Regions from separate parts of the Homo sapiens genome. Here all the other regions are linked to region 2. Evidence: promoter capture Hi-C in human tissues and cell types (Jung and others, 2019). All regions are on one chromosome and are shown on one strand. Each heading gives the region's core, a stretch centred on a gene start or on the middle of the fragment in contact. The rest is flanking DNA. Distances are from core to core; before and after follow the strand shown.

Evidence for each region. The method cuts DNA at HindIII sites, captures the fragments that hold promoters and counts their contacts. A contact is called where the count stands out against the background at its distance.
Region 1: the fragment with the promoter of IL12RB1 here is called in contact with the fragment with the promoter of FKBP8 in region 2 in 1 of the 25 tissues and cell types used here (dorsolateral prefrontal cortex).
Region 3: a contact is called between the fragment with the promoter of RAB3A here and the fragment with the promoter of FKBP8 in region 2, in 1 of the 25 tissues and cell types used here (dorsolateral prefrontal cortex).
Region 4: the fragment with the promoter of JUND here is called in contact with the fragment with the promoter of FKBP8 in region 2 in 1 of the 25 tissues and cell types used here (dorsolateral prefrontal cortex).

The regions. Positions count from the first base shown.
Region 1 is chr19:18,082,904-18,089,206 of GRCh38, reverse strand. It overlaps IL12RB1 (interleukin 12 receptor subunit beta 1), which reads left to right and starts at 2,273. Exons shown (of 17, transcript NM_005535.3): 1 at 2,273-2,447; 2 at 5,716-5,775. The coding sequence starts at 2,384. RefSeq lists enhancers at 1,942-2,001, 2,012-2,361. The HindIII fragment of the contact is 62,137 bases long and covers 1-6,303 here.
Region 2 is chr19:18,542,323-18,549,227 of GRCh38, reverse strand. FKBP8 (FKBP prolyl isomerase 8) reads left to right here and starts at 5,655. Exons shown (of 9, transcript NM_012181.5): 1 at 5,655-5,742. RefSeq lists a silencer at 5,410-5,839. The HindIII fragment of the contact is 12,332 bases long and covers 1-6,905 here.
Region 3 is chr19:18,201,129-18,207,442 of GRCh38, reverse strand. It overlaps RAB3A (RAB3A, member RAS oncogene family), which reads left to right and starts at 3,401. Exons shown (of 5, transcript NM_002866.5): 1 at 3,401-3,547; 2 at 4,703-4,930. The coding sequence starts at 4,703. LOC102725254 (a long non-coding RNA gene) reads right to left here and starts at 2,713. Exons shown (of 2, transcript NR_134910.1): 1 at 2,544-2,713; 2 at 1,880-1,987. RefSeq lists silencers at 2,050-2,109, 2,995-3,384 and enhancers at 2,765-2,864, 3,050-3,344, 3,377-4,159. The HindIII fragment of the contact is 10,728 bases long and covers 1-6,314 here.
Region 4 is chr19:18,276,107-18,282,974 of GRCh38, reverse strand. JUND (JunD proto-oncogene, AP-1 transcription factor subunit) reads left to right here and starts at 1,353. Exons shown (of 1, transcript NM_005354.6): 1 at 1,353-3,281. The coding sequence starts at 1,491. The coding sequence ends at 2,534. MIR3188 (microRNA 3188) reads right to left here and starts at 898; the gene lies at 814-898. It overlaps LOC124904652 (a long non-coding RNA gene), which reads right to left and starts at 883. Exons shown (of 2, transcript XR_007067154.1): 1 at 1-883. RefSeq lists silencers at 875-1,874, 2,455-2,764, 3,195-3,394 and enhancers at 1,368-2,219, 3,445-3,654, 3,995-4,074. The HindIII fragment of the contact is 27,320 bases long and covers 1-4,390 here.

The sequences.
Region 1 (6,303 bases), core at 1,024-3,523, 460 kb after region 2:
CACTCCCGCCTCCCCCCAGCCCCTGACAACCACTCAGCTACTGTCTGCCTCTGTACATTTGCCTATTTTGGATATTTTATATAAGTGGAATCATACAGTGTGTGCCTTTCCTGTCCATCTTCGTCCACCCAGCATGATGGGTTTTTTTTTTTGTGTATGTGTGTTTTTTTTTTTTTGAGATGGAGTCTCACTCTGTCACCCAGGCTGGAGTGCAGTGGCACGATCTCAGCTCACTGCAACCTCTACCTCCCAGGTTCAAGTAATTCTCTCTGCCTCAGCCTCCCGAATAGCTGGAATTACAGGCACATGTCACCAGGCCTGGCAAATTTTTGTATTTTTAGTAGAGACAGGGTTTCGCCTTGTTGGCCAGGCTGGTCTCAAACTCCTGACCTCAGGTGATCCGCCCACCTCGGCCTCCCAAAGTGTTGGAATTACAGATGTGAACCACTGCACCCAGCCCAGCATTATGTTTTTGAGGGTTCATCCACATGGTAGCTTGGATCAGAGCTTCTCCACTGACATTTAGAGGCTTTGCCGACAGTGGGGAGGGAGGGGCAGGAAACAAAATACTCAGAGGCTAAGAAATGGAACATGGGGGAAAGACTAAGTTGCATCTCTTAAATTTTTTTTTTTTTTTTTTTAAGAGACAGGATCTTGCTCTGTTACCCAGACTGGAGTGCAGTGGCACAATCACGATTCACTGCAGCCTCAACCTCCTGGGTTCAAGCCATTCTCCCACCTCAGCCTCCTGAGTAGCTGAGAATACAGATGTGTGCCACCACGACTGGCTAACTTTTAATTTATATATATATATATATTTTGAGATGGAGTGTCACTCTGTTGCCCAGGCTGGAGTGCAGTGGCGCGATCTCGGCTCACTGCAACCTCCACCTCCTGGGTTCAAGCGATTCTCCTGCCTCAGCCTCCTCAGTAGCTGGGATTACAGGTGCCTGCCACCACACCCGGTTAATTTTTGTATTTTCAGTAGAGACAGGGTTTCACCATTTTGGTCAGGCTGGTCTCAAACTCCTGACCTCGTGATCCACCTGCCTTGGCCTCCCAAAGTACTGGGATTACAGGCGTGAGCCACCGCGCCTGGCCTAATTCTTTATTTTTTATAGAGATGGGGTCTTGCTATGTTGTTTAGGTAGACCCAAACTCCTGGGGTCAAGTGATCCTCCCACCTCGACCTCTCAAAGTGCTGGGATTAGAGGGGTGAGCCCAGGTGCACAAGGCTGGAGCTTGGCATGTGGGGAGGTGGGCATTGTGGAGGGCCAGCATGCTGCAAGCTCTTTGTAACAATTTGTTGGAAGGATGAAATTAGGCCATCCAAGAACACTGCCCTCCTTCAGCTCTTGAGTCTCAGATTCAGAAGCTGGCGAGATGGCCCGGTGCGGTGGCTCACGCCTGTGATCCCAGAATTTTGGTAGGCCAAGGCGGACGGATCATTTGAACCCGGGAGTTTGAGACCAGCCTGGGCAACATGGCAAAACCCCCTCTCTTAAAAAAAAAAAAATGCAAAAATTAGCTGGGCGTGGTGGTGCATGCCTGTAGTCCCAGTTCCTGGGGAGGCTGAGGTAGGAGGATGGCCTGAGCCTGGGGAGGTTGATGTTGCAGTGAGCCGTGATTGCACCACTGCACTACAGCTGGGCCACAGATCAAGACCCTATCTCAAAAGAAGAAAAAAAGAATTTGGCAGCCAGGCACGGTAGCTCACGCCTGTCATCCCAGCACTTTGGGAGGCTGAGGTGGGTGGATCACTTAGGGTTAGGAGTTCGAGACCAGCCTGGCCAGCATGGTGAAACCCTGTCTCTACTAAAAATACAAAAATTAGCTCGATGTTGTGGCAGTTGCCTGTAATTCCAGCTACTCGGGAGGCTGAGGCAGGAGAATTGCTTGAACCCGGGAGGCAGAAGTTGCAGTGAGTGGAGATCATGCCACCACACTCCAGCCCGGGCGACAGAGCAGGGCTCCATCTCAAAAAAAAAAAAAAAAATTGGCTAGAGAGGGCCAGAGACCTGGCCAAGTGCATGGAACCACAGGTGGCCCATGGGCCCATGGGGCTGGCATCTGGGTGTTCAGTTCAGGTCTGGGGCCAGCAGGGCAGAACCCCCTAGAACCCTGACTTGCTCCAAAGTCAGACTTGCTCCAGAGTCTGTGGCCGCCACCATCACCACCACCACGGAGCTGACTTCCTGGGTTTCTCTTTCACTTTGACTTGCCTTAGGGATGGGCTGTGACACTTTACTTTTTTTCTTTTTTCTTTTTTTTCAGTCTTTTCTCCTTGCTCAGCTTCAATGTGTTCCGGAGTGGGGACGGGGTGGCTGAACCTCGCAGGTGGCAGAGAGGCTCCCCTGGGGCTGTGGGGCTCTACGTGGATCCGATGGAGCCGCTGGTGACCTGGGTGGTCCCCCTCCTCTTCCTCTTCCTGCTGTCCAGGCAGGGCGGTGAGTCCCCTGACCCTGGCATGGCGGCTCCTCTTGCTGGGTGGAGGCACGTGTATGTGTGGAGAGCTGTGGGCCTGCTGTGTGGGTTGGTTTCATCTCTCTGTGCCTCAGTCTTTCCTGCTGTCAAATGGGAGATGGGCAGTCATGGCTTCTGGGATCGAACTTAGACATCTTTCCTCTGGTCTAGATTTTCTCTTCTGTGAAATGCACTAAATTTTTTCCACCTCCCGGAGTTCAATGAGAAAAAAAACTAAGGAAGGAATAAAAAGCAAGTATGTATCTAATAGGTATACATAGTATAGTATCTTATGTATGTAGTTTACAATAGATAGACATACATAATATAATGTATACAGTCATTTCCATATTTACGGGGCAATGGTTCCAGGACCCTCTGCAGATACCAAAATCCAAAGATGCTCAAGTTCCTGATATAAAATGGTAAAGTATTTGCATATAACCTATGCACATCCTTCCGTATACTTTACTTATTTATTTATTTATTTATTTATTTATTTATTTATTTATTTATTTACTGAGGTAGGGTCTCACTCTGTGTCCCAGGCTGGAGTGCAGTGGCCTAATCATAACTCATTGCAGCCTTGACCACCTGGGCTCAAGTGATCCTCCTGCCTTAGCCCCTTGAGTAGCTGGGACTGCAGGTGCACACTACCATGCCTGGTTAATTTTTTTGGTGTATACTTTTTACAGAGACAGCGTCTCGCTGTGTTGCCCAGGCTGGTCTCGAACTCCTGGGCTCAAATGATCCACTCACCTTGGCCTCCCAAAGTGCTCAGATTACAGGCATGAGCCACCATGCCCAGCCTTCCCATATACTTTTAATAATCTCAGGCCCTGCACGGTGACTCACTCCTGAAAATCCAGCACTATGGGAGGCCAAGATGGGTGGATCACTTGAGGTCAGGAGTTCGAGACCAGCCTGGCTAACATGGTGAAACCCCATCTCTACTAAAAATGCAAAAATTAGCCAGGCTTGATGATGGGCACCTGTACTCCCAGCTACTTAGGAGCTGAGGTGGGAGGATCGCTTGAACCCAGGAGGCAGAGGTTGCAGTGAGCCGAGATTGCAGCACTGCATTCCAGCCTGTGTGGCAGAGCAAGACTCTATCTCAATAATAATAATAATAAATAAACTTTCCTTCTCTGTACACTGGGGATCAGCGGGGTGCTGACTTTTTCAATGGCTCTTGAGATGCACTGAGTGCCTGTAGAATGCCCACAGCAGTGCTGGCCACACCTCAAGGTCCCAGCGCCTTCAGGGGCCAGGCATGGCTGGAGACCAGCAGCAGGGAGGGGGCGAGAGGCAGCCCACGAGGTATCCTGGAGATAGTGGCAGTGAGTGGTCAGTCCAGGGAAAGGGAAGGAGGATGGGCTTTAGGCTCTCAGGGGTGGGTGGGTGGGTGGGGGTTCTGTGTCATCACAGAGAGAGATGGAAGGATGGAGAGCCTTGTGTGTTAAGCATCTTTCCCCCCTCAAGGTTGGACACTTGGGGCTGTTTCCTGGGGTGCCGCCTTCTCCCCCAAGGCTTCCAATCTGCCTGCAGGGCTCAGGACAGGTCCTTCTTGTGGGAGTGAGGGCGCCGGGGTCTTCCTGACCCATCCATGGTGGCATCCCCCTCCTTCTCTCACCCAGTTCCACACCTAGCAGACTGTGGCAATCCCAAAGGGCACGGGGATCCCAGTGGCTGAGGGAGGTCGCTGCCTCCTGGAGAAATGTTATTAATAATTGCCCTGACTGCTAGTGGGCCAAGTGTGCTTGCCTGGGCCAGCCCTGGCAGGCCTCTCCCTGCCATGCACCCTCTACTGTCTTTCCCCATGCTGGCTTCAGACACTGGTGCCACCCCAGGCACACCTCCACTTCTCTCTGCCCTCCAGACTGTTGGTCTTACTGTTCTTTCCTGCAGGGGTACCTCCCGAGAGTGTCTCCCAAATATGCATCTCAACCTCTGAGGACTAAAGGGTGGTGGATGAATGGATAGACAGGTGGATGGGTGGGTAAATGAATGGATGGATGAATTAATAAATACATGTATGTATGTATGGATGGATGGATGGATGGATGGATGGATGGATGGATGGCTGGATGGATATATCGGTAGGTAGATAAATGGATGGATGGGTGGGTGTATGGATGAATGAATACGTGGATGGATAGATGGATAGATTGGTGACTAGATGGATAGATGGATGGTTGGGTGAATGGATAATGGATTAATGAATGCATGGATGCATGGATAAATACATGGATGGATGGATGGATGGATGGACTAATGAATACATGGATGGATGGGTGAATGGGTGGATGGTGGGATGGATGGATGGATGGATGGATGGATTAATACATGGATGGATGGATGAATGGACGAATGGACGGATAAATGGGTGGATGGTGGGGTGGATGCATGGATTAATACATGGATTGATGGATGGATGGATGGATGGATGGATGGATGGATAGATGGATGGGGGGTGGATGGATGGATGGATGAATACGTGGATGGATGGACGGATGGTGGGGTGGATGGATGGATGTATGAATACGTGGATGGATGGATGGTGGGGCAGATGGATGGATGAGTAGATGGATGAATGAACACATGGATGGATAGATGGATGGGTAGATGCGTGGATGGATGGATGAATACATGGATGGATAAATACATGGATGGATGGGTAAATGGGTGGATGGTGGGGTGGATGGATGGATGGATGGATGGATGGATGGATGGGTAGATGGGTGCATGGATGGATGAATACATGGATGGATGAATACATGGATGGATGGGTGAATGGGTGGATGGTGAGGTGGATGGATGGATGGATAGATGGGTGGATGGATGAATGAATACATGGATGGTTGGATAGATGGATGGGTAGATGAGTGGATGGATGGATGAGTACATGGATGGATGGATGGGTAGATGGGTGGATGGTGGGGTGGATGGATGATGGATGAATACATGGATGGATGGATGGATGGATGGATGGATGGATGGGTGAATGGATGAATTCATGGGTGGATGGATGGGTAGATGGTGGACGGATGAATAAATACATGGATGGATGGGTAGATGGGCAGATAAATACATGGGCAGATGGATGGATGGGTGGTGGTAGGAGGGTGCATAGATGGGAAAGTGGGTGGGTGGGAGGGCTGATGATCACTTGGGTGTAGACCCCAAGGCTGAGCCCTTCTCCCCACACAGTGCAAGGCCAGGAATGTCATTATGTCTTCATTGCCTTTGCAGCTGCCTGCAGAACCAGTGAGTGCTGTTTTCAGGACCCGCCATATCCGGATGCAGACTCAGGTTCGGGGCAGTTCCTCATTGTTGGCTGAGGATTATGTAGGGCTCTGCCTGACCCCATCCACAGCGGCCCCTCCCATGGCCTCCACCACCAGGCCAAAGACCCAGCCCTGCCTGTGGTCTTGGGAGTCCCCACCCCACCACCTGCTGGCCCATTCTTACCAGGTTCAAGTTGCCCTGGAGTAGCCAGCCGCCTCTCTGAACATTATCACTTCCCTAGCATGGTCTCAGGGCTGGTGTCTGTGTCCGTTCAGATTGGTCGGTACATGGGAGAAAGTACCTGTTAAGCATTTTGAAGCCCCCCCCCCAACCTGATAAATTATTAGAACATTTATTTCATTTATTTATTTTTGAGACGGAGTCTTGTTCTGCTGCCCAGGTTGGAGTGCAGTGGCCTGATCACAGCTCACTGCCACCTCCACCTTCCAGGTTCAAGCTATTCTCCAGCCTCAGCCTTCCAAGTAGCTGGGATTACAGGTGCCCGCCACCACACCCGGCTAATTTTTGTATTTTTAGTAGAGACCAGGTTTC
Region 2 (6,905 bases), core at 4,406-6,905:
TTCAGTGGGTCCTTGGGGCTCTTTTGGAAGCCAAGGAACATTTACGAGGGTCTTAGAAGGGGTGGGGACTATAGATTGAGGCCAAAAGGGACTTGGCTGGCCCCTGATGTTTTGTATACACTGGACTTGAGATAAGAACATGTTTTTTTGTATGATGAAGGGAGAGGATAGAAAGTTATGCGAACATTCAGTCTGCCCAGAGATGGGGACTTTCGGGGGTCGGGTTTGGGGACTGGAAGGCTTTCTCTGCCACTTTTTTCCATTTCATTTCCTTTTTTGTGTGTGTGATAGGGTCTTACTCTGTTGCCTGTACTGAAGTGCAATGGCGTGATCACTGCTCCAGCCTAGCAACAGAGCGACTCCATCTCAAAAAAAAAAAAAAAAGAGGAAAACCACCTAATGAGACAGATTTATGTCTAGATATGTCCATAATTACATTAAATACCAATAGACCAAATTCCCCAGTTAAAAAACAAAGATGGACCCGGGCGCAATGGCTCATGCCTATAATCCCAGCACTTTGCAAGGCCGAGGTGAGAGGATTGCTTGAGCCCAGGAGTTTGAGAACAGCCTGAGCAATGTAGCAAGACTCCATCTCTACAAACAATAAATATAAAAAAAGTAGCTGGGCATGGTGGTGCACACCTGTAGTTGAAGCTACTGGAGAGGCTGAGCTGGGAGGATTGCTTGAGCGTGGGTGATTGAGGCTGCAGTGACTCATGATTGTGCCACTGCACTCCAGCCTGGGCCACACAGTGAGACCTTGTGTCAGAAAGAAAGAAAGAAAACATGAACCAAGGAGAATTGGTGTGTAATTTTTTTTTCTTTTTTGTTTTTGAGATGGAGTCTAGCTCTGTCTCCAGGCTAGAGTGAAGTGGCGCAATCTTGGCTCACTGCAACCTCCGCCTCCCGAGTTCAAGCAATTCTCCTGCCTCAGCCTCCTGAGTAGCTGGGATTACTGGAGTGTGCCACCATGCCCAGCTAATTTTTCTGTTTTTAGTACAGACGGGGTTTCACCATGTTGGCCAGGATGGTCTCGATCTCTTCACCTCGTGATCAGCCCGCCTCGGCCTCCCAAAGTGCTGGGATTACAGGAGTGAGCCACCATGCCCAAGCTTGGTGTGCAATCTTAACAAAGTGCACTCTAAGGGAAAAATGAAAGAAGTAAAGAGGGGCACATCTTAACAATGAAAGGTTCAGATCGGGCCTGGCGCTCTGGCTCATGCCTGCAATCCCAGCACTTTGAGAGGCCGAGGCAGGTGGATCACATGAGATCAGGAGTTTGAGAACACCCTGGCCAACATGGCGAAACCCCGTCTCAACTAAAAATACAAAAATTAGCCAAGCGTGGTGGCGGGTGCCTGTAATCCCAGCTACTCGGGAGGGTGAGGCAGGAGAATCACTTGAACCCAAGGGGCAGAGGCTGCAGTGATCTGAGATCTTGCCACTGCACTCCAGCCTAGGCGACAGATTGAGACTCCATCTCAAAAAAAAAAAGGTTCAGTTCACCAGGAAACACAATTGCAACTCTACATGCAGCCAATGATATGGCCTCCAAGTAGAGCAGTCTTGTTTTTTTGTTTTTGTTTTGTTTTGTTTTGTTTTTGAGATCGAGGTCAAGAGTTTGAGACCAGCCTGACCAATACAGTGAAACCCCGTCTCCACGAGAAATGCAAAAATTAGCCAGGCTTGGTGGCTGGTGCCTGTAGTCCCAGCTACTCCAGAGGCTGAGACAGGAGAATTGCTTGAACTTGGGAGGCAGAGGTGGCAGTGAGCCGAGATCGTGCCACTGCACTCCGGCCTGGGCGACAGAGCGAGATTCTGTCCCAAAAAAAAAAAAAAGGGAAAAGCAAATATAAGTAAAATGTTTGCCTGCAAATATCTGTTCAATGAGTGCCAGCCATTATTATTATTGTTGGTGGTGTTATTTTATAGTTTATTTTAGTAGCTTATTAATTTATAATAATAATTATTACTATTATTTTAGAAACAGCGTCTTGCCTTGTTGCTCAGGCTGCAGTGCAGAACTTTGATCATAACTCACTGTAGCCTCGACCTCCTGGGTTCAAGGGATCCCTCCCACCTCAGCCTCCCATTTAGCTGGGACTACATTTTTAAATTTTCTGTAGAGGCCAGGTGTGACGGCTCATGCCTGTAATCCCAGCACTTTGGGAGGCCAAGGCAGGTGGATCACAAGGTCAGAAGTTCAAGACCAGCCTGGCCAACATAGCGGAACCCCCCCATCTCTACTAAAAATACAAAAAATTAGGCAGGCATGGTGGCAGGCGCCTGTAATCCCAGCTACTAGGAAGGCTGAGGCAGGAGAATTGCTTCAACCTGGGAGGCAGAGGTTGCAGTGAGCCGAGATCACACCATTGCACTCCAGCCTCACTAGACTCTGTCTCAAAAAAAAAATTAGTCATGTGTCATGGCAGGCGCCTGTAATCCCAGCTACTTAGGAGGCTGAGGCAGGAGAATCGCTTGAACCTGGGAGTCAGAGGTTGCAGTGAGCCCAGATCGTTCCACTGCACTCTACGTGGGAGACAGAGGGAGACTGTGTCTCCAAATTAATTAATTAATATTCTGTAGAGGCAGGCTCTCACTACGTTACCCAGGCTTAGGTTGCCCAGGCTGGAGTACGGTGACGTGATCTTGGCTCGCTGCAACATCTGCCTCCCGGGTTCAAGCGATTCTCCTGCCTCAACCTCCCAAGTAGCTGGGATTACAGGCATGTGCCACCGCACCCGGCTAATTTCTGTATTTTTCGCAGAGACAGGTTTCACCATGTTGGCCAGGCTGGTCTCGAACTCTTGACTTCAGGTGAACCATCTGCCTCAGCCTCCCAAAGGCTGTTTTTGAGACTGGGTCTTGCTCACTGCAACTTCCACCCCTGGGGTTCAAGCAGTCCTCATGCCTCAGCCACCCCAGTATCTGAGATTACAGGCATGCACCACCATACCCGGCTAATTTTTGTATTTTTAGTAGAGACGGGGTTTCACCATGTTGGCCAGGCTGGTCTAGATTTCCTGACCTCAGGTGATCCACCCACCTCGGCCTCCCAAAGTGCTGGGATTACTGGCATAAGCCACCGCACCCAGCCCTCCAGGTGATTTCTTACATAGCTCTGCTATGCTACCACCTTTAACCTCCCTTCCTTCCTCAGTGATTTCCGTGAGACCCCACCACTACCTTTTGTGGCAGGCACTGTGCAAGCCTCAGAGCTATAACAATGAGAAAGAACAAAGCCTTCCCAGACTTTGGGGCTCTGCCAGTGTAGAGGGCAAGGCAGAGGTAAATCAAAGCAGTGGCTCACGCCTATAATCCCAACAGTTTGGGAGGCCAAAGTGGGAGGATTGCTTGAGCCCAGGAGTTCGAGACCAGCCTGGGCAACATGGGGAAACCCCATCTCTACAAAAAATATAAACATTGGGCCGGGCGCGATGGCTCACGCCTGTAATTTCAGCACTTTGGGAGGCCGAGGTGGGCAGATCACAAGGTCAGGAGATCGAGACTATCCTGGCTAACACGATGAAACGCTGACTCTACTAAAAATACAAAAAATTAGTCGGGCATGGTGGCAGGCGCCTGTAGTCCCAGCTACTTGGGAGGCTGAGGCAGGAGAATGGTGTGAACCTGGGAGGCGGAGCTTGCAGTGAGCCGAGATTGCGCCACTGCACTCTAGCCTGGGCTACACAGCGAGACTCTGTCTCAAAAAAAAAAAAAAAAATTAGCTGGACATGATGGTGCACCTGTGGGCCCAGCTACTCAGGAGGCTGAGGCAGGAGGATTGCGTGAGCCCAGGAGATAGACATGGTTGCAGTGATCTGAGATCGTGCCACTGCACTCCAGCCTGGGTTTCAAAGTAAGACCCTATCTCAAAAAAAAAAAGGCAGAGATATAAGTAAACTAGTTTGGGAAGCCGAGGCAGGCAGATCATGAGGTCAGGAGTTCCAGACCATCCTGGCCAACATGGTGAAACCCTGTCTCTACTAAAAATATACAAATTAGCTGGGCATGGTGGCGGGTGCCTGTAGTCCCAGCTACTCAGGAGGCTGAAGCAGGAGAATCGTTGGAACTTAGGAGGTGGATGTTGCAGTGAGCCGAGATCGCGCCACTGCACTCCAGCCTGGCGACAGAGAGAGACTCTGTCTCAAAAAAAAAAGAGAAAGAAAAAAAAAAAAAAGGCCAGGCACGATGGCTCATGCCTGTAATCTTTGGTACATCGAGGTGGGCGGATCACGTGAGGTCGGGAGTTTGAGACCAGCCTGACCAACATGAAGAAATCCCGTGTCTACTAAAAATACAAAGTTAGCCAGGCATGGTGGTGCATGCCTCTACTCCCAGCTACTTGGAAGGCTGAGGCAGGAGAATCGCTTGAACCTGGGAGGCAGCGGTTGCGGTGAGCTGAGATTGCGCCATTGCACTCCAGCTTGGGCAACAAGAGTGAAACTTCTTCTCAAAAAACAAAAACAAACAAACAAACAAAAAACCCAAGTAAACTAGTTATGAAGTGGACGTTCATCAACTTCATTGTGCCAAGACAGCTAAAGGGGGCACCTGGTCTTGCCTTGGGGAGGTTGGGAGGGCTTCCTGTAGGAGGTAACCTGGGAACTCCAACCTTAGAAGTGATCTCCAAAAAGCCAGTTACCACCTCCATGATAGCTACCTCCAAAAGCTGGTGTCTGACTCATCCATCCATCCATCCATCCATCCATCCATCCATCCATCCACCTACCCATTTATTGAGCTTCTATAGATGCCAGGCATGGTTCAAGGAGGTGCTGGGTACAAATCAGGTAAAAATCTCTGCCAGGATGAAGCAGAGTGAGGGATGGTCCCTCCAACCACAAGCAAAATAATGACAAGATAATTCTGGAAGGAGTAACTGCTAGGAAGGAAATAAAACTGAGTGAAGGAGGGAGAAGTGTCCCGGTTTCAAAACAAGATCCACAAAAACTTAGCTAATCAAGGATGCCACCTTCTTCCCGAGCCATGGGGACCTTATCACCCTCCAGCAGACAGTGCATAGAGGAGGAACTCCTCCCAGTGGCCCTGCTGGCTCAGTCGCCTGCGCAGCAGTAATCGAGCGCCTCCAGTATGCACCAGGCAACCTTCTAGACATTAAACTGTGTGGGGGATGGGAGGGAGGTTTCTGTATGCCTTTGGGCACGTCACTCCTCCTCAGGCCCTCAGGTTCACTTCTGTAACTAAGGCTTCAGGATGGGTCATTCAGCAACCCCAGAGCTGCCCTGCCCGTCAAGCTTGAACTCTTTAAGGAAATAACATTTAGAGTGGACTGTGCCCCCAGCAGCCCCCAAGGTGAGAGTGCATAGATGGGGGTGTTTATCCCCATTTCGCAGATGGTCAGGATGAAGCTCAGAGGAGAGGCAGGAGTCGCACAGGCTGCGCGATACTGACCCGTGTTGGGGTCCAGCCCAGGGTCCCCCGCCCCCGCCCCAGCCCCCGCCCCAGCCCCCGCCCCAGCCCCCGCCCCAGCCCCAGCAGCCGGGAGGCTTCGGTCCCTTTAAGAACGCCCCGCGGGGCCAAGCAGGAAGGGGGAGGTGCCAACGCCCGGGACGGACGTCTGCATGAGCCAACGGGTGCGGCAGTCGCGGCAGCGGCGGCCAATGGGCACGGCAGGGGCGGGGCCAAGCGGCCGAACCTGGTTCCCGAGGCGCGGCGGCCGCGGCTGGGGGCGGGGAGGGGGGCGCAGGACCCCAAGTGGGGGTCCCGGAGCCAGAGGCAAGTGTCCTGGGGTGCTGGGGGCGCCGTGCCGGCCGGGCCGCTGCCCTGGCCTAGGCTGGTCCGGGGGCTAGCGCGCCGGGGGCTGCGGCCGATGGGCGGGGCGAGGGGCCGCGGGGGTGGCGAGCCGGGGGGGCACGGGGGTCGGGGGTGCCCGAGGGGGCGCGGCCGGGCGGGGGTGGCCAGGGATGGGGGTCACTGGGGGCAAAGGGGATCCAGTGGGGGGGTCCCGATGGAGGCGTGCAGGGCCAGGGGCGCCCGAGGCGTGCGGGGGTCGGGTGCCCCAGACTGGTGGCGTCAGACAGGCGTGGGTCGTTGGGGGCCTGGGTCGCGGCTTGACTGAGGGCCCGGCCGGGGCTGTGGGGCGTCAGGAGAGCGTGGGGTGTTATGGGATCGGAAAGGGGGGGGCGTCTGGGGACACTGGAGTGTTTACGGCGAGACGGAGCGGCTGTGGGGGGAGCTGGCCCGTGCTGGGGGCGGTGGTGGTTGGGGTGGGGGGTGGGAGGGGAGGCCGAATTGTGCGGGCGCGGGGAATTATGGGGGTGGGGGCTGGGAGGGTCTCTCAAAGTGGGGCTCCGAGCCCGGGAGGAGCAGGCAGGTGAGGGTTAGGGAGGGGATGCGGCGGGCTGGTTTGATGGCTGTGCCACACTCTTCTGAGCTTGGGGCCTGGGGGACGGAGGGGTTGGTTATTGGTTCAGGAGGTCTGGGGCAAGGAAGAGGCTGTAGAATGTGGTGGGACCTCGACCACTCCTGGAAAGGAGGCTGCTTTGAGGGGGTGGGACCGAGGCCTGATGAGAGGAGGATGGTCTCCTGGGGAAGGATTTGGGCCAGGGTCCCTGATGTTGGGGTTGTGGGGGATAGTGTTAGATTCAGAGTGTGGAAGGAAAAAACGCTTGGGGTTTCTGGGTGATTACAGTTGGTGCTTTTGGGGAGGGTCTCCCCTTTGGAGAAGAGGCTGGAGGTGGGAGGCCCTGGTAAAAGATTCAATTTCCCCCAGTGGCCTTAGAGGCTCTAAAAATGGCTTCCCTAAGGCCTCGGAGGCTGTCCTCTCCACAAAAATCCCAGCACCCTTCGCTCAGCTTATAATCAGGCAAAGCCACAGGGCCTGAAGCCCCAGGTTCAAATCCTCCTTTGGCCTTTGGCTTTCTCTGTGACCTTGGGCA
Region 3 (6,314 bases), core at 2,152-4,651, 340 kb after region 2:
GGGTTCAAACGATTCTCCTGCCTCAGTCTCCTGAGTAGCTGGGATTACAGGTGCCCACCACCATGCCCAGCTAATTTTTGTATTTTTAGTAGAGACTGGGTTTTCACCATGTTGGCCAGGCTGGTCTTGAACTCCTGACCTCATGATCCGCCTGCCTCGGCCTCCCAAAGTGCTGGGATTACAGGCATGAGCCACTGCACCCAGCCCTAGAATATTCATATTTCTTATAAATGAATATTCATATGTTCTCCTTCAGTTTGAGCCAAAGGCATTTGTCCCTCTCCTCTTACTGACTGCATCTGCTCTGGCCACACTGCAAGCCTGGTCCCACCACAGGGCCTTCAAACAAGCTGTTCCCACTACCTGGAATGCTTCTCTCTCAGCCCCCAGCCTCACCCATTAGATTTTTGTTTTTATTTTTGTTTTAGACAAAGTTTCGCTCTTGTTGCCCAGGCTGGAGGACAATGGCGTGATCTTGGCTCACTGCAACCTCTGCCTCCCGGGTTCAAGCGATTCTCCTGCCTCAGCCTCCCAAGTAGCAGGGATTACAGGCGACCGCCACCATGCCCGGCTAATATTTAGTAGAAATGGGGTTTCACCATGTTGACCACGCTGGTCTTGAACTTCTGACCTCAGGTGATCCACCCACCTCGGCCTCCCAAAGTGCTGGGATTACAGGCATGAGCCACCACACCTGGCCCCCACACTGGGTTTTAAGTTAGTGTCTTCTTCCCCGAGAAGTCGTCCCTGGACCCGTATCTGGGATACTTTTTTTTTTTTTTCTTGAGACAGAGTCTCCCTCTAGCACCTAGGCTGGCGTGCAGTGGTGCCGGTGATCTCAGCTCACTGCAACCTCCGCCTCCCTGGTTCATGCGATTCTCATGCCTGGGCCTCCTGAGCAGCCTCCTGGGACAGGCACCACCACACCGGGCTAATTTTTGTATTTTTAGCAGAGATGGGGTTTCACCATGTTGGCCAGGCTGGTCTCGAACTCCTGACCTCAAGGTCAAGGAGTGATCCTCCTGACTCGGCCTCCCAAAGTGCTGGTATTACAGGCATAAACCACCGCACCTGGCCACATTTTTATTTTTATTTGTCTAGTGTAGACGATAGGGTAGGGATGCAGGGAAGCCTCTGGACTTTCCTCTGAGTGGGACCGGCCTGGAAGCCTAGCCCGTTCTCCCACCAGCTCTGTCTCCCCTGACACAAAGAAAATACCCCAATCCCGCAGCCCCTCCCCCAGCTCAACCATTTCTAATTCCAGAGCCCAATGCTGCTCTGGACAATCAAGGGCTTGCATTCTTTTTAAATTTAAATTAAGTAATTAATTTTTTGAGACAGCGTCTCACTCTGTCGTCCAGGCTGGAGTGTAGTGGCGCGATACGGTTTCCTACAGCCTCGACCTCCTGAGCTCAAGTGATCCTCCTACTTCAGCCTCGGGAGTATTTGGGTCCACAAGCACGCGACACCACATCCAGCTAATTTTTAAATTTTTTGTAGAGATGGGGCCTCCCTATGTTACTCAGGCTGGTTTCCAATTCCTGGGCTCAAGCGATCCTCCCGCCTTGGTCTCCCAAAGTGGTGGGATTACAGGCGTAAGCCTCCGCACCCGGCTATTTTTACTTTAAAATACTAAGTCAGTGACGGAAGCTTCCGCACATTCTCGTGGCTCACTTTTCTCTTCCTGGGGAAAAAAGGCAGGAGGTATTTCCGAGAGAGCCACCCATGTAGGAAGCGTGCCTTTGGGCGATCAGGGAGCTGAGCAACCGAAAAACCTCCCCTCCAAGGAGGCGGCAGGCCAGGGCCTGGACCAGCTGCCCTGGAGCCCCCCACAGAGCACGGACTACCGCGTGGGCGCGGAGGGCAGGGAGAATGGGAGGTGGATTTCTTTTTATTTTTTGTTTTTCTGAATTTTCCCAATTTCTCTGCAGTGGATTGGTGATACTTCTATAGTCCGAGTGGGGGAGGAGGGAGCAAACATGTTACCCTAAAAAGAAAAAATAAATTTCCCAAATGTAAACGGTGCGGGGACGTGGGGGTGGGCGTCCCAGTACTCCCAGGGCACTGGGGGCGGGCTGGGGACTGGGTTGGCGGCGGCTGGGCCTCGAGGCGCTAAGTTATTCTGGTCTCTCGGCGCCTCCGCAGCTGGCGAGCTTTTTATAAACAGGACGAGTCACCCCCCGCCACACACACACGCTCCAGCCCCGCCTACTGGGAGGGGTGGGGGGAGAATCTAGGGGATCAGGACTCTCCTGGGGGCCACACACCCCTGGAGGGTTTGAAAGCTGGAGTAGGGGGAGCAGGAGACCCAAAGTGGGGGCTGGGGTTTCGGGCTCCTCCTCCCTCCCCAAATTCTGACTTCCTTCCCTAAAGATTTGGAGGAATAAAAGATGGACCATCTTAGCTCCCAAAAGGCTCCATCCTCTGAGTTTTGCTTTCCCAGGATGGAGGGAGGGGGTCTCCCAGCCCCCGGGTCTTTGAATCCGAGCTTTGAAGAGCTGGAGGCTTCGGCTCGTGCCCTCCCTGTTTCCCGGGGCATTTACCGCAGGCTTTAAGGGGTTTCCGGGACAGGTCGCTTCTCTGTCCCTGCTAAACCTTTTCTTCGAATTTTCTTCTTGATGACGGGGCGCAGGGAGGGGAGGGGGTTCCCAGAGAGTCCATCAGCCCCTTCCTCCTTTTCTGGGAATGGTGGGGAGGGGAGGCTCTCTTGACCTCTACTTCTTTCTTTTCAAACCTCAGAAACGGGGGAGGGGTGGAGTCTTTACTAGCCCCTCCCTCAGTGGGGGGGTCTTACGCCTCGGGAATGGGACAGGGGTCCCTCTTGACTCCTGTTTATTCTTTGGTATTTATTTTGAACCCCATATATGTGAGGGTATAAAACATCTCTTGGGCCTCGATTTTTCTTTTCTGCAATTGGGAGTCAGGGGCATTTAACAGGGGTCACAGCACCTTGGACTAGACGGTGGCCTCAAGAGTCCCCTACCTGGGGTGGGTGCGGGCGGGTAAGGGAACCGCCCCTCGAAGACCGGGGCTCAGCCAAGGCCTCAGCCTCTCGGCCCTTCAATCTCCCAGATGCCACCATTGGACAAGAGGAGGGCGTAGACAATCTCTGATTGGCTACTTCGCCCGTCGCTCGAGAGCTTAAGCCAGTGAGAGAACGCTGAGGGGCCCCGCCTCCCCGAGGCGGACAGGAGGCGGACGAGAGGCGGAGTCGGCCCCCGCGCCGCTCCCGCCCCTACTGGATGCACACGCTAGGCCCCGCCCCATTTGCACGTCAATCTGCTCAGGAGCCCTGCCCCATCTGGCTCTGCGTGCGTCAATGGGCCACATCTCTACGCGCGGCTCCGCCTCCGGATGGCGTCACGGACTTATCTACATGTGAGGCTCCGCCCCTCCCTTTGCAGGACGTCACGGAGGACTGCAGGGGCCTGAGCCGCTGCTGCCGCCGCCGCCGCGCAGCCCCACATCAACGCACCGGGGTCCTGTCACCGCCACCGCCAAAAAAGTCACCGCCGCTAGGGTCGCCGTTGCATCGGTGCAGGGCAAGGTGAGCTCCTGGGCGGCCGGGTGTGCTCAGGCTCCGAGCACCTGCATAACCTTCATTTGACTGATGGGCTGATGGAGGTGGGGGACGAGGTTGACTAGGGTTGAATGGGGGGAAGGATGCGGCGGTCGCGAGGCTGGGAATGGGTAGGGCCCGGGCGCCCCACTCCTGCCTGATCCTCACCACTAACCCCCCCAACCCCCCTGCTCTGCGGCGGAGGGGGAGGGGAGCCGAGCTCCTTGCGGGAAGCTGTGCGCGCGGGAGGCTTTTGCGTGCGCGTGCGCGTGGTGTGCACACGCGTGTGCGCGCCTGCCTGTGTCAGCGGGTCTGTGTGCACCCTTGCTTGTGTACCTGGATATGCTCGTGTGACGCCGTGGGGGTCTGGGCCTAAGTGTGTGAGCGTTGCACGCGCGTGGAGAAAGACGTGTGGACCGCCTGTGCAGGTATGGCCCGTGCATACAAGCACGGGGATCCGTGTCCGTGTGGGTGATGTGCACACGCCTGCATGGGTGGAGGGGCCTGTGCGCACGGGTGGTTTGCACATTTCTATAGGCGAGTCGGTGTGCAAACAGGTGTCTGTGTCTTTGTCCTGTGCACCTCAGTGCGTTCACACACTCCTGTATGTACGGATGAGCGTGTTTGAGGCTGTGTGCACGTGAGCGTGTGCATGCCCCTCCTGTATCATGTGATGCAGCGGCCTTGGCCGGAGCTCTCCGGCCTGGAGGTTTGCGGGGAGCGGGGGCTGCAGATGCGCGTCCTCGAGGGACCATGCACGCGGTGCACGTGGGGCCGCGCGGCCGGGTTCTGAGGACCATGAAAGATTGATGGGGGGCGGAGCCAGCCGCAGTCACCCCCTCCGGGCTCAGCCCTGGGTTTAGGGTTACAGCCCCACCTGGGGCACCTGCCCCTTGAAGGGGGCTGCTGGGGTGTCCCCATCGGCAACCCTCTGAGCCCCTCCTCTGAAACGCCCAGGATTTCAAGGTCACAGGCTGCCCTCTGCTGGGGGCACCACCAATTAATACTGGGGCTCCTGATGGGATAAGGGTGTCCTCCATACACCGGCCGTTTTCTGGAGCCCTTGCCATCTTCTGCCTGGGCTTGGGCACATGAGGATGGAGAGAGCCCCCCTCACGGCTCTGCTACACCCGGTATCCCCAGATGGCATCCGCCACAGACTCGCGCTATGGGCAGAAGGAGTCCTCGGATCAGAACTTCGACTACATGTTCAAGATTCTCATCATCGGCAACAGCAGCGTGGGCAAGACGTCCTTCCTCTTCCGCTATGCTGACGACTCGTTCACGCCTGCCTTCGTCAGCACCGTGGGCATCGACTTCAAGGTCAAGACCATCTATCGCAACGACAAGAGGATCAAGCTGCAGATCTGGGTGGGTCCCAGCTGGAGGGCTCCCGCCCGGCTCGGTTGGATTCCCGTACTTGGAAAAGCAGCCCCAACCTCGTCTATCTCTTTCCTGACTGGAGTCATTCACTTACACACTGGGCATTTATCAGTAAGGTGCCCACTGTGTACCGGGGCAGAAACAGCACCTGTGTTCTCCCATAAGCACCTAATCCTGGTCCCTCAGTTTCCCCATCTTCAAGTTCTTCCATGTATGAGGTTTCAGCTGGATCTTGGTCCCCATTCTCTTTTTTTGTTTGTTTTTTGAGACAGGGTGGTCTTGCTCTGTCCCCTAGGCTGGAATGCAGTTACGTGATCACGGCTCTCTGCAGCCTCGACTTCCCAGGCTCAAACCATTCTTCCACCTGAGCCTCCTGAGTAGCTAGGACCACGGGCTTCTACCACCACGCCTGCTGATTTTTTTCTTTTTTGTAGAGACAGGGTCGGGCTATGTCTGCCCAGGCTGGTCTTGAACTCCTGGGCTCAAGCGATCCTCCCACCTCAGCCTCTCAAAGTGCTAAGATTACAGGCATGAGCCACCCCACCTGGCCTTGTTAGTTTTAAGAGACAGAGTCTCACTCTGTTGCCCAGGCTGGATTTGAACTCGTGGGCTCAAGCAATCCTCCCGCCTCAGCTTCCCAAGTAGCTGGGAGTACAGGCAAGTGTCAGCTTCCTTTAATTTTTAAACCTACAGTTAAATTCTCTCCATCTTCATCTGGCTTGATTTTTCTCCTTGGTCCTTGTCACTCTCCAATATAGGATACATTTATACCGTTATTTTCTATTTCCCACACTGAGTGTCACTTAGCAAGGGAAGTGCCCATCTTGTTAACAACTGTGTCCCCAGTGTCCAGTTCAGGGTGTGGAAAAGATCAGTGCCCAGTCCATGTTTGTTTATTTGTTTGTTTGTTTTTTGAGACAGAGTTTTTGCTCTGTCACCCAGGCTGGAGTGCAGTAGTGCAATCTTGGCTCACTGAAACCTCTGCCTCCCGGGTTCAAGCGATTCTCCTGCCTCAGCCTCCTGAGTAGCTGGGATTACAGGGGCTCACCACCAAGCCCAGCTAATTTTTTTTTGTATTTTTAGTAGAGATAGGGTTTCGCCATGTTGGCCAGGCTAGTCTTGAACTCCTGACCACAAGTGATCCACCTGTCTTGGCCTCCCAAGGTGCTGGGATTACAAGCATGAGCCACCACGCCTGGCCTCTGTTTTCTTTCTTTCTTTCTTTCTTTCTTTCTTTTTTTTTTTTTTTTTGTTGTTATTGTTTTGAGACGGAGTCTCGCTCTTGTCACCCAGGGTGGAGTGCAATGGCGCGATCTCGGCTCACTGCAACCTCTGTCTCCTGAGTTCAAGCGATTCTCCTGCCTCAGCCTCC
Region 4 (6,868 bases), core at 104-2,603, 260 kb after region 2:
GACACATCTTTGCACTGGGGGAAGGGAGTACCAAGCAGAGAGCATAGCACGTGCAAAGGCCCAGAGGTACGATTAGTCCTGCAACTGGGAGGCCAAGGATCAGAGAGAGTGAGGGGAAGGAGGTCAGGGAAAGGAGGGTGTGGGCTCCATTCAGACAGAGGTGGGGAGCTGGAGGGGTGCATGCAGAGGCTGTAGGTCAGATCCAGATGTCCTAAGGATCCCTTGTGAGTATTGGTGGGGTGGGTCCATCTCTCCTCCCTCACACCCCCTTCCCAGCCAGTCTTAATAGTGGCTCATTAAGCCCTAACAGCCATGATAGTGGTAACAAGCATGTAATAATTATACCCGGCATTCCTGCCTCATCAGCCCAGCCCCTGGAGTTGGGCACCCTCGCCCAGGACATCACAGCCCTGGCAGACCTGGGGTTAAAACGTGGGCGGCGGAAGGAAGGGGCTGCGCAGGGGCCTGGACTCCCAGGTTCTAGGGTTCTAAGGGTGGACAAGAGCTCAGGCCTAGTCACAGCCCGGGCCCTGCTGTGACTCCTAGCTAACTCTCGGGGGATGGTCACTCCACCTCTCTGAGCCCAGTTTCCCATCTGTAAAGGCAGGAAGTAGGACTCCTGGTTCTAGAACGCACTCAGTGAAAATGATCAGGATCCAAGCGCTTTCAGCAACTTCTGGCGACCCTCCTCTCCCCTCCCGTCTCTTCCTGAGCAATCACACGCGGGGTGGAGGGAGGGAGGGAAGGAAGGAGGGAGGGTGAGGAACGCAGACCTCCCCACACCCCCGGCGAGCCCCCGGACACAGCCCCACCAGGCCTCCAGCCCCGTATCCGCACAAAGCCTCTCCAGAAGGCGCGCTAGGGGAGGCCCTGGCGGCACAGCAGAGCAGGAGGCGCCAAGGAGTTATTTAGCCATGCGGGACCCCATCCCCCTCCAGTCCCCGGAGGCCGGCACCGCCCCCGCCCCCGCCCCCGCCCGGCCGGGGCCCCACGCGCGGACACGGGGCGGGGCCTCGGGGCGGGCGGGCGCCTGGTGGCCCGGGCCCATCACGCCACCCGGGACGTGCCTTGGCGGAGGCGGCGCCGGGGAGATCGGTCGTACACAGCGGTCCCGGGGCGGGGTGACCCGGCCCGGGCGCGCGGCCGCCCCCATGACGTCAACCCACAAGGCAGCGCGCTGTTGTGGCGTTTACCGCGCGTCGCCGGGGCAACGGCGGCCGGGCGGGCGTCGGCGGCTTGGCCCCGCCCCTCCATGCAAATGAGCGACGTCACCCGCACCCAATGGCGAACGGGGGCGGTGAGCTCATCGCGCCGAGCCGAGGCTATAAGAGGGCGCACAAGTGGCGCGGCGCAGGAGCCGCCGCCAGTGGAGGGCCGGGCGCTGCGGCCGCGGCCGGGGCGGGCGCAGGGCCGAGCGGACGGGGGGGCGCGGGCCCCCCGGGAGGCCGCGGCCACTCCCCCCCGGGCCGGCGCGGCGGGGGAGGCGGAGGATGGAAACACCCTTCTACGGCGATGAGGCGCTGAGCGGCCTGGGCGGCGGCGCCAGTGGCAGCGGCGGCAGCTTCGCGTCCCCGGGCCGCTTGTTCCCCGGGGCGCCCCCGACGGCCGCGGCCGGCAGCATGATGAAGAAGGACGCGCTGACGCTGAGCCTGAGTGAGCAGGTGGCGGCAGCGCTCAAGCCTGCGGCCGCGCCGCCTCCTACCCCCCTGCGCGCCGACGGCGCCCCCAGCGCGGCACCCCCCGACGGCCTGCTCGCCTCTCCCGACCTGGGGCTGCTGAAGCTGGCCTCCCCCGAGCTCGAGCGCCTCATCATCCAGTCCAACGGGCTGGTCACCACCACGCCGACGAGCTCACAGTTCCTCTACCCCAAGGTGGCGGCCAGCGAGGAGCAGGAGTTCGCCGAGGGCTTCGTCAAGGCCCTGGAGGATTTACACAAGCAGAACCAGCTCGGCGCGGGCGCGGCCGCTGCCGCCGCCGCCGCCGCCGCCGGGGGGCCCTCGGGCACGGCCACGGGCTCCGCGCCCCCCGGCGAGCTGGCCCCGGCGGCGGCCGCGCCCGAAGCGCCTGTCTACGCGAACCTGAGCAGCTACGCGGGCGGCGCCGGGGGCGCGGGGGGCGCCGCGACGGTCGCCTTCGCTGCCGAACCTGTGCCCTTCCCGCCGCCGCCACCCCCAGGCGCGTTGGGGCCGCCGCGCCTGGCTGCGCTCAAGGACGAGCCACAGACGGTGCCCGACGTGCCGAGCTTCGGCGAGAGCCCGCCGTTGTCGCCCATCGACATGGACACGCAGGAGCGCATCAAGGCGGAGCGCAAGCGGCTGCGCAACCGCATCGCCGCCTCCAAGTGCCGCAAGCGCAAGCTGGAGCGCATCTCGCGCCTGGAAGAGAAAGTGAAGACCCTCAAGAGTCAGAACACGGAGCTGGCGTCCACGGCGAGCCTGCTGCGCGAGCAGGTGGCGCAGCTCAAGCAGAAAGTCCTCAGCCACGTCAACAGCGGCTGCCAGCTGCTGCCCCAGCACCAGGTGCCCGCGTACTGAGTCCGCGCGCGGGGCGCATGCGCGGCCACCCTCCCCAAGGGGCGGGCTCGCGGGGGGGTGTCGTGGGCGCCCCGGACTTGGAGAGGGTGCGGCCCTGGGGACCCCCCCTCCCCGAGTGTGCCCAGGAACTCAGAGAGGGCGCGGCCCCCGGGGATTCCCCCCCCCCGAGGGTGCCCAGGACTCGACAAGCTGGACCCCCTGCTCCCGGGGGGGCGAGCGCATGACCCCCCCGCCCTCGCGCTGCCTCTTTCCCCCGCGCGGCCGCCCCGTGTTGCACAAACCCGCGCGTCTCGGCTGCCCCTTTGTACACCGCGCCGCGGAAGGGGGCTCCGAGGGGGCGCAGCCTCAAACCCTGCCTTTCCTTTACTTTTACTTTTTTTTTTTTTTCTTTGGAAGAGAGAAGAACAGAGTGTTCGATTCTGCCCTATTTATGTTTCTACTCGGGAACAAACGTTGGTTGTGTGTGTGTGTGTTTTCTTGTGTTGGTTTTTTAAAGAAATGGGAAGAAGAAAAAAAAATTCTCCGCCCCTTTCCTCGATCTCGCTCCCCCCTTCGGTTCTTTCGACCGGTCCCCCCTCCCTTTTTTGTTCTGTTTTGTTTTGTTTTGCTACGAGTCCACATTCCTGTTTGTAATCCTTGGTTCGCCCGGTTTTCTGTTTTCAGTAAAGTCTCGTTACGCCAGCTCGGCTCTCCGCCTCCTTCTTCCCCCGCCGGGGCCTGGCGGGCTGGGCGGGGCCTGGTTCGCTTCCCCCCTACACCCCCGCCTTTCTCTCCTCCCTCTGTCCCTAGCTCCTCCCCTTGTTGGAGGGAGCAGAGAGCGGGTGTCTGAGAGCGGCCCGCACATCTGGCGCGCAGCGAGCGCCCCCTAGACGCGCCTTGGCGCGGGGCCGGCTGATGTCCAGGTTGGGGAGGGGTCTTGGGGTCTTTGATCTGCGTTTGGAACTAGCTAATGCCCCCTTGCCTTTTGGGAAGGAGAGATTTCGAGGTGGAAAGGGCACAGCCCCAGCCCAAAGCAGGAAGGAAGAGACAGAAACTTAGTAAACTTTTTAACCTTTTGGTCCTTGGTTTGCCTGTCCGTATAAAATGGGGAGAACAGTCGAAAAACTTGCCCCATAAAGTTGTGACGATTAAGAGAGTTTATGTTTACAGAGCAGTGCTTGGCTTACAGTGTAAGCTTTTCTCTTTTGGTGGATCGGGGGATGCTGAGGCCCAGGACAAGCTGATGGACCCAGTACCAGGAGGAAGTTGGCACAGGTGGGATCTAACCCAAGAGGTCTGCCTCCAGGACTGGGATTTTCCAAGTATCTCCCTGAAGTTCGCTTCTCCTCCTCCTCCCAACATCCTACTCCCTACTTTGAGGAAATCTAAGGTTCAGAGAGGTTGAGCAACTGGCTTGACATCACACAGCCTTTTAAGGAGACTGTGCAGAGATAGTCTGACCTTGGACTCCCTCACTTTCAGAGCTTTGACCCGAGGCTTCCTGCTTCTCCTGCCTGCTCTGCCCTTTGCTGTTAAGACCCTGCGCTTTGGGCTTCCAACTCATTGGGGACCCTGAGGGATGTGAACATTAGTGGCCGAGGTCACACAGCAAGTAGGGCTGGTGGCCATGTGTACCTAGCCAGCCCTGTTAGGGAGGGCCACTGAATTGTACCCATTTTACAGATGAAGAAACTTGGAGAGAATGGCCACCGTCCCTTGGTCATGGAGAAAGGCCTTGCCACCAACAGCTATGTTGGGGTTCATTTGTTTGAGACAGAGTCTCGCTCTGTCACCCAGACTGGAGTGCAGTGGCGCCATCTAGGCTCACTGCAACCTCTGCCTCCCCGGGCTCAAGTGATTCTCCTGCCTCAGCCTCCAAGTAGCTCAGATTACAGGTGCCCACCATGCTCGGCTACTTTTTTGTATTTGTAGTAGAGACAGGGTTTCACCATGTTGGTCAAGCTGGTCTGGAACTCCTGACCTCAAGTGGTCCACCCGCCTCGGCCTCCCAAAGTGCTGGGATTACAGGCGTGAGCCCCCACGTCCGGCCAGGGTTTGGTTTTTAGCTGTCACGTTGCCTTGTGGGAGGTCATGCAGACGTTTCAGCAGGGCCTGAAGGAACCTGCTGAAGGGAACTGAGGCTGAGGTGGGAGAGCAGGGGTGTCTTGACACACAAGAGACCAAGAACCACATCTCGGGCAGAGTGTCACTGGTTGGGAGACCGGGACCCAGCTTAGGTTCCAGTTGGCATTTGTGAGATCTCAGGCGAGTCCTCCTCCCCCGATGGCCTCTACATCCTGTGCTGTGAGATGCGGGTGTTTGCATCCAGCATAACATCTCTCAGGTCAGAAGTCAGAACTGGGAGGTGCTCAGGGGACGGACAACAGTGACCGCACTCAATGATGGTACCTACTGTGGCCCCCAATTAGTAGAGAAGGGGAAGGGAGGTTTTGAGACTTGCCCAACACCCCTGTTTTTTTTTTTTTTTTTTTTTGAGACAGAGTCTCGCTCTGTCTCCCAGGCTGGAGTGCAGTGGCGCAGTCTCGGCTCACTGCAAGCTTCGCCTCCTGGGTTCATGCCATTCTCCTGCCTCAGCCTCCTGAGTAGCTGGGAATACAGGCGCCCGCCACCACGCCTGGCTAATTTTTTGTACTTTTAGTAGAGATGGGGTTTCACCGTGTTAGCCAGGATGGTCTTGATCCCCTGACCTCATGATCCGCCCGCCTCGGCCTCCCGAAGTGCTGGGATTACAGGCGTGAGCCACCGTGCCCGGCCAACACCCCTGTTAAATGGCAGAGCAGCGATTCAAACCCAGGTCTCTTGCTTGCCTGCCCCCAAGTGGTCTAAGGCGAAAGGACTCTGAGGAGCCCTGCAGAGAGGTGGAGGACGTACTTTGTTTTTCTTTTTTTTTTTTGAGACTGAGTCTTCCTCTTGTCGCCCAGGCTGGAGTGCAATGGCCTGATCTTGGCTTACCGCAACCTCCACCTCCCAGTTTCAATCGATTCTCTTGCCTCAGCCTCTTGATTAGCTGGGATTACAGGTGTCTGCCACCATGCCCAGCTAAATTTTTTTTTTTGAGACGGAGTCTCGTTCTGTCTCCCAGGCTGGAGTGCGGTGGCGCGATCTCAGCTCACTGCAAGCTCTGCCTCCCTGGTTCATGCCATTCTCCTGCCTCAGCCTCCTGAGTAGCTGGGACTGCAGGCGCCCGCCACTATGCCCGGCTAATTTTTTTGTGTTTTTAGTAGAGACGGGGTTTCACCGTGTTAGCCAGGATGGTCTCGATCTCCTGACCTCGTGATCTGCCCGCCTCAGCTTCCCAAAGTTTCTGGGATTACAGGCGTGAGCCACCCTGCCTGGCTAAATTTTTTTTTGTATTTTTAGTAGAGACAGGGTTTCACCATGTTGCCCAGGCTGGTCTCGAACTCCTGACCTCAGGTGATCCACCCACCTTGGCTTCCCAAAGTGCTGGGATTACAGGCGTGAGCCACTGGGCCCCACAAGTTTGTTTTTTTTTTTCTTTACAAGATGAGGTCTCGCTCTTGCCTTGGCCAGAGTGCAGTGGCAAGACCACAGCTCACTGCAGCCTTGACCTCCTAGGCTCAACTGATTGTCCTGCCTCACCTCAGCCTCCCAAGTAGCTGGGACCACAGGTGCACGCCACCATGCCCTACTAATTTTTATTTTTATTTTTTCTTTGAGACGGAGTCTTGCTCTGCCGCCCAGGCTGGAGTGCAGTGGCGCCATCTCGGCTCATTGCAAGCTCCGCCTCCCAGGTTCACGCCATTCTCCTGCCTCAGCCTCCTGAGTAGCTGGGACTACAGGCGCCTGCCACCATGCCTGGCTAATTTTTTTGTGTTTTTAATAGAGATGGGCTTTCACCGTGTTAGCCAGGTTGATCTCGATCACCTGACCTCATGATCCGCCAGCCTTGGCCTCCCAAAGTGCTGGGATTACAGGCGTGAGCCACCACGCCCAGCCGCCCTACTAATTTTTAAATAATTTTTTTGTAGAGATGGGATCTATGTTGCCCAGGCTGGTTTTGAACTCCTGTGTTCAAGTGATCCTCCAACCTCGGTCTCCCAAAATGCTGGGACTACAGGTATTGAGCCACTGTACTCGGCCTCTTTTTTTTTTTTTTTTTTTTTTTTTTTTTTGAGTCAGGGTCTCTCATTCAGGCTGGAGTGCAGTGGTGCAATCTTGGCTCACTGTAGCCTCCACCTCCTGGGTTCAAGTGACTCTCCTGCCTCAGCCACCAAAGTAGCTGGGATTACAGGCATTTGCCATCATGCCTGACTAATTTTTGTATTATTAGTAGAGACGAGGTTTTGCCATATTGGTCAGGCTGGTCTCAAACT